2 separate regions of the Homo sapiens genome follow, and region 1 is linked to region 2. The links are contacts of gene promoters, found by promoter capture Hi-C in blood cells and fetal thymus (Javierre and others, 2016). All regions are on one chromosome and are shown on one strand. The core of a region is centred on a gene start or on the middle of the fragment in contact, and the rest is flanking DNA. Distances in the headings are between cores, read along the strand shown.

Region 1 (3,175 bases), core at 380-2,879, 980 kb after region 2:
CACAAGAGCACATATGTTTCTGTTTTGTTCCTATATCTCCAATTCCTAGAACAATGTAAGAAATATAGATTCTCAGTAATTATCACCGAATATATAAATCATTAAGTCAGATTTTCTCAATACTCTCGCTAAATGCCTAAGAGATGTTTCTGAGACACTACCCTGGTTCTCATCAAGAATTATTCATAGTAACAGATTAATTTAACATGGTATACAGAGTTAAAGTAATGCAATTTAAATATGTATCATTAGTTCCCTCTCTCACACTATACACTTTTGTAATAAAAATCCTTGCTATTAAGGCTGATTAGTTTGATTAGTTTTCTCTGCTCTTCACATTTCACTGTGAGAGGGAGGCACTTCTATTCGCCCAAAAGGAAAATATATAGAATTCTTTCAGCTTCTCTCAATTCTTCTAAGTGTTCATTTTTTTCAGAGTGGTTAGTCTATAAGTTTACATATGTACTAGACCTAAATAGGATATTAATATACTACTATACATACTTTCAGTTGTAGAGAAGGATGTATCTAGTGTTAACTCATCCAGAGGAATCACAAGTTGACCTCCTGCCTCCCACTTCTTGCGATCAGATGAAACTGATTTTTCTTTTTCATGCTCTTTGGCATCTTCATGAACATTTATCTCAAAAGTATCAGAGAGATTCTGCTTTCCTTTTTCATCTTCTTGAGCTTTAAGATTTTCATTTAATCTACGAAGTATTTCTCGCTTACTCTGAAAGTCACGACATTATATATTTTAATATGTATATCATTAAGTAAAATGATTGATAAACTTTGAAAATTTTACTTACTGAAATAGCATTGTTGGTCTTTTGCATCTCTTCTGAAGTTTCCCGGGTATCAGTTAAACTACTGTCCTTTAAATGCAGATAGATACAGAGGAAGAGATAATTTTATTTTTTTAAATCTACCTTTAAAAATATTACATCCTCGTTACTTTTTGGTTTTCATTAATTTGTTCCTTGTAAATTTTTTATTCCTATAAAATGTTAACAAAGCTTCCTTCATTATCAGCAATGACTAACCTTTAAATATTATTAATTAGACAACATAGACAGGGGCCAATTCTCAATTATTTGTCATATTTTTAGATTACTGCTCACATAATTAACTATATCCTCTTCCTCTTTGGTACCTGATTTTTTGGTAATTTAAGTCAGAAAATTAGAGGAAAAAGTAGAAATTAGAGGAAAAAGTAGAAATTAGAGGAAAATTCATATACTCTCTTAATTATAACTAGAAAAAGTTTTGATAGATGAAGTAATTCAAAATAGGCTGTGTTATTCTAAAACTGTCTTTATGTTTCATGTATATATATCCTTGTTAAGCCATAGTACTAAATGTAATTGAGAAGTGGCTTTCCTCCCTAAACAAAGAGTGTAACAAAAATTAGTTCTGAGTCATTTGTACTACAAATGACATAAATGTTATCTCCTAATTAGCATTGTCAAAGCAATCCAGACTATCTAAAATTAAAAAACATACGAAAAGAAGAAATTAGCAGTTACGAAAGCTATGAAAGCAAAGGCATGTAGAAGATTCAAAGAACAATTTTCTAAGTTTTAAGTAAGTGACATTTACCAACACAACACAGAAAGAAAACCGTTCAGTTATATGGATTACCTCGAATTTTGTAATACTTAAAAAAAATTAAAAATTTGGTGGTCAGTTTCAAAGTAATATATGAAGCAATGAGACAAAGAACATTTTACCCAGTAAAGTAGTCAGGAATTAGCAGTCCTACAACCAGAGAGATGAACAGCTATTGAGATGTGAGACTGGGTACCAAGGAGGGACCACACAGTGGTATCTAAAGTTGGAGTAACAACGTGGCACACGCAAAGTCGTTATCAGAAAGAAAAAGTGACTAAGCCTACTTGAAGAACAATAGTTTCTTACATGAAGTTCTTGAGAATGATCAAGAAACTTATATTTTCCTACTGAGTTTTATTTTCAAAATCAACCCAAAGGCTATAAAAAAAAACAGCTAGTGTACCAATTTTGTCTGCAAATATTTACTGAAACTAAACAAATAAAAAGCACAGACATCCATTACCAGGAAAGGGGAAAATGAAGTTATTATGTTATCTGATTCAGTAGACTTTTCTCCTCCTGTCTGTTGAATTCTAGGCCGCAGCTCCACACTATGAGCCCACTTCTCTTAACCCCTGAACAGTCTTCACACTTCAGACAGATACCTGAAATATACTTCTAAGTTTAAGCTTTTTATTTGTCTATGTTTCTTTGTTTTACTATCTGTAGGGCATGACAGAGATTCAGAAGTAGAAGGTAAAAGGAATAACTGATGAATTAACTAGTTCTACTGAGTCCTCTAACATTTGCCATGTCACAAAATTTGAATAAATGTAAATATGTGTTGGACCTAATACCTAGAGCTACTTTAGCACCAAAGAGACATTATTCTTTTTAAAGTGAACATTTGTTAATCATGAGGGTTGGGTAGAAAAATGTTTATAGTATTATTTTCAGTACATTTCTCTGTATATTTTATTTTTTCAATATTCTTTTAAAGTAATATAAGAGTTATTGTGATATATTTTCATCTACCACGTGGTCCTAGATATAAAACTTATAAACAATGAGGCTCCAGTATTCTGAGTAAACTAAAATCCCTTAAAAAGTAATTTTTTTCCTTAGAAAAACCTGAAAGGGACATTAGGGATTAATGTGATTTCATTAAATTTAATTTCCTTTTAAATAATCTTTTGACTTTGAGGAGTTCTGAATCTTAGGAAACTTACCACGCCAACTTCTTTCAAAGCTGAAGTTACAGAAATAACAGATCTCATCTGTTGCTTTGATGGAGAGCCACCTGTTTCATGCTGTCCCAAAGGTGGAGAAACATCAGAACTCTTAACTCCTTTAGCCACCAACTATAAAAAAGGATTTTATTAAATACATTAGGGATTTTATATTTGTATGAAGAAATAAAATGGTACCTACCAGATCACTATTTATCCACTCTATCCACAAGTAGTTTTTTTCATTCCTGAATTATCTGTTGAGCAAGGCATTATGATGCTACATGCTGGGGATACAGCAGTGACTAGAGAAAAAAATCTCTGGTCTCAGATGTACACATAGTCATGTCACATAGTCCTAAATAACCCGCTTTCATTGCATTATCAATGTT
Region 2 (3,210 bases), core at 273-2,772:
TGTTCTTTGTAAATTACCCAGTCTGTGGCATTTTGTTATAATGACACAAACTAAGACAATCAATCAGAGTTATATTTCCTTGTAAGTATAAATTTTATTTTTTTATTTTTATTTTTATTTTTTTTAAGAAGGAGTCTCGCTCTGTCACCCAGGCTGGAGTGCAGTGATGGGATCTCGGCTCACTGCAAGCTCCGCCTCCCGGGTTCACACCATTCTCCTGCCTCAGCCTCCCAAGTGGCTGGGACTACAGGCACCCGCCACCACGCCCAGCTAATTTTTTGTATTTTTAGTAGAGAGGGGGTTTCACTGTGTTAGCCAGGATGGTCTCAATCTCCTGACCTCATGATCCACCCACCTCGGCCTCCCAAAGTACTGCAATTACAGGCATAAGCCACCACGCCCAGCCGTAAGTATAAATTTTAAAATCACTTCTTAATTAATATAATAGATGAAATGACCCACAGAAGTATCCACTCACAGAAAGGACCATTTCTAAAGGACCAGTTTGGCCTATAAAGAAAATACAATAGCAGACCTTCACAAATTTTCTAACATCAGAAAAGAAAAAATATTTAGATATTAAACTGAATCAAATGTGATGGTCTTACCCAGACAAAGGAAGACTCAGCACCCCATTTCCAAGTTAACTGGGAGCTTTTGTGTTGCTCTTTTTGCCCCCCTTATATTTGATTCTGCTACCTGACCTTTAAACAGAAAAGCTTTCTCTTCTTGCTATCTATGTTTGTTATTTAAAAGATCAAAATATTAAACTCTTGCTATATCTATTTGTCATTTGAAAGATCAAAATATTAAATGATTGTGAAACATTTTTTGCAACTGTAAGAGGGTTGATACTTTTCCTGAATATTATTCATTCAACATTCATTTATTTCTTTGACAAATATTTAAGAGATGCTCATGATGTCCTAGGCATTGAGCTAAGAACTCAATGTTGCAATGTGGATAAGATCCAGTCCCTGTGTGTTCATACTTATTTAATACTATTATAGACAAGGCCTTTAATACATACCATAGTCATATATCAATTTTTAATTAGCAATATGAAATAAGAGAACAATGGGACTTTCCACTCAATTTGACAGGTGGCTAAATTTTCAGTTACTGAATTTACTATTTTAGGGTAATCTAGCACATGACCAAAATTTAAATGCACAGAACAGAAGATCAGAGTAAGAAGAGCTTCCATTTGGATTATCACTTTTTCTACTTGGAGTCACATACTGTACTTTAAATTGATTAAGAACATGTTAAAGGTCCAGGTGGTGATTTCCAGCTACAAGTCCAAAGTATAGAAGAATGTGTTTAAATCCTACGTTTATCAGATCCATAAATATAGTTCCTTCTATGTTAAGTGGCTTTATTTCTAAGAACCCAGCCCTCGGTCCTGGGGGTGCTTCCCAGCCCGCTGCTGGAATTCCTGATCGTGGCAGTCTGCTGAAACATGAGCTCAGTTACCAAATATAGCTGAGTGGAGTAAGAGGACAGATGAGAGTCTGAGGCCACAGTTGCCTCAAAGTGACCACGGACCAGGCAGTCTCTAATGAATAGGCAAGGCCACAACCTCCATTCTCCCAGAAAAGAAGAAATGCTCATCTGAAATTCATCACCTCTCTGGAGTCTTCAAACTGACCAAGCATTGAAAAGGTCTGTAAGGTGTATCTTAATATACTAACTAGTAGGGCAACATTTTAAGGACTTAAAAAAAAAAAAACTAAAAATACAAAAGTTTTTCTGAAGATATGATACTATTTACAAGATACCTTAATTATTCTTTTGCTTGGAGAGGAAACGTAATGAGAATGTTACGGTTTTGCCAAAAACAGATAATACGTAAGATTTGCCTGCCCACTTCATCTCTGCCTTTGCTGTCAGAGAATTACACTTTCTGTTATAAGCTTAAGCATGCTAAGATGGTGCTATCAATTCCAAAAGGATTAAATGTATTTATGGAGCCAGCTTTTGTCAAGATCGTGTATGTGTTATGTTTCACAGAAAAGGAAAACGCAGCTTTCTAGACCCTCACCCATATTTAAGCTAGATAAGTGATGATGGCTTAAAGTGATAGACCTTAGATTTCAGTAACATTATAAATTGTTAATTACACTTTCAAAAGATTCTAAAAGTAACTCACTGGACATAATTAAATGAGTTGGGATAGTAACAGCAGGTATTTTAAATTATATTCATGCATAAAATTTACATACATATTTTTAATAAGATAACGCTTACTAAGGGAAACCACAGTGCAATCTCGAGTCCAGTCAAGTTTAAACATCACAGAATAATTTTTATCATGTTGTTTTAAGTTGCACATGAAATTGTCTTGAATCCAATATAGGAGGTTGACATAAAATGATTTCAGGCTCATATTACTTATTAACATTTGCTAAAAATACTAATTGCCTTCTAGTATGAATAATGTGGTGACATATAAAGCCATTTCTTGGCAATATAAAACTATTACAAATCTATTCAATCACATATATGCAGAAATTAAATCCTCATTTCATGATAAATGTGCCTTCCAATGTTTTTTCTCACAGAAAGAACTTGAATACTCACCTCAATTATTCAGATTTTTTTTTCAGATTTTTAAAATCAAAGTCTCTTTGACAAGTTATTGCTAACAGCAGAAAAGGCCGATGAGGTTTATCTGGCCACTAACTGCCCTGTAAATACATGATTACACATTCCTAGAATATAAATTAGTCCTCTGGCATCCTAGAATCTGGTATGGATTAGGGTCTGTATCCCAGGGGTTCTGTGTCAGCTCTTCCTCTGGGTTTCTCTGTTATTGCTAGAGCTGAATATTAAAACTGGCCTTATAGCATATTTCACAATAGAATGAGGATCTGGATTGCACTGGACAAGTACAATCACTTTGACCTCCTTACCTCATTTTTTAAAAATGTAGAGGGCAATCATTATTCAGGTTTAAAAATAAATATGACAAGTTCTTTAAGAGATACCAAGTGGAATCTGCAAGGCCCAGACAAGAGCTCCACTTCTTAAACAATATGTGTGTGGAGGCTGTCAAAGGGTATTGCAATTACTGAGCTCCAGTTAGAAATTCAGGCCATCTAGAGTTAATGACTGTGTCCCGGTGAAATTACAGCAAAGAAAACAAAGATTGAACAAAGTATCTTCGACTAAAATTTCTAACTGTTAAATCATATTAGAGAATATAGA

Evidence for each region. Contacts are between HindIII fragments. The CHiCAGO score rates a contact against its expected background, and 5 or more counts as called.
Region 1: a contact is called between a fragment that was not itself captured here and the fragment with the promoter of PALLD in region 2, in 2 of 17 cell types (total B cells and naive B cells). The highest score is 10.7, in total B cells.

The regions. Positions count from the first base shown.
Region 1 is chr4:169,476,620-169,479,794 of GRCh38, forward strand. It overlaps NEK1 (NIMA related kinase 1), which reads right to left. Exons shown (of 36, transcript NM_001199397.3): 24 at 2,784-2,915; 25 at 813-878; 26 at 505-733. Among named protein-coding and RNA genes, the nearest start is that of NEK1, 130 kb to the right of the region's middle. The HindIII fragment of the contact is 1,224 bases long and covers 1,018-2,241 here.
Region 2 is chr4:168,495,530-168,498,739 of GRCh38, forward strand. PALLD (palladin, cytoskeletal associated protein) reads left to right here and starts at 1,523. Exons shown (of 22, transcript NM_001166108.2): 1 at 1,523-1,665. All of the region lies in intron 1 of LOC107986198 (a long non-coding RNA gene), which reads right to left. The HindIII fragment of the contact is 1,197 bases long and covers 718-1,914 here.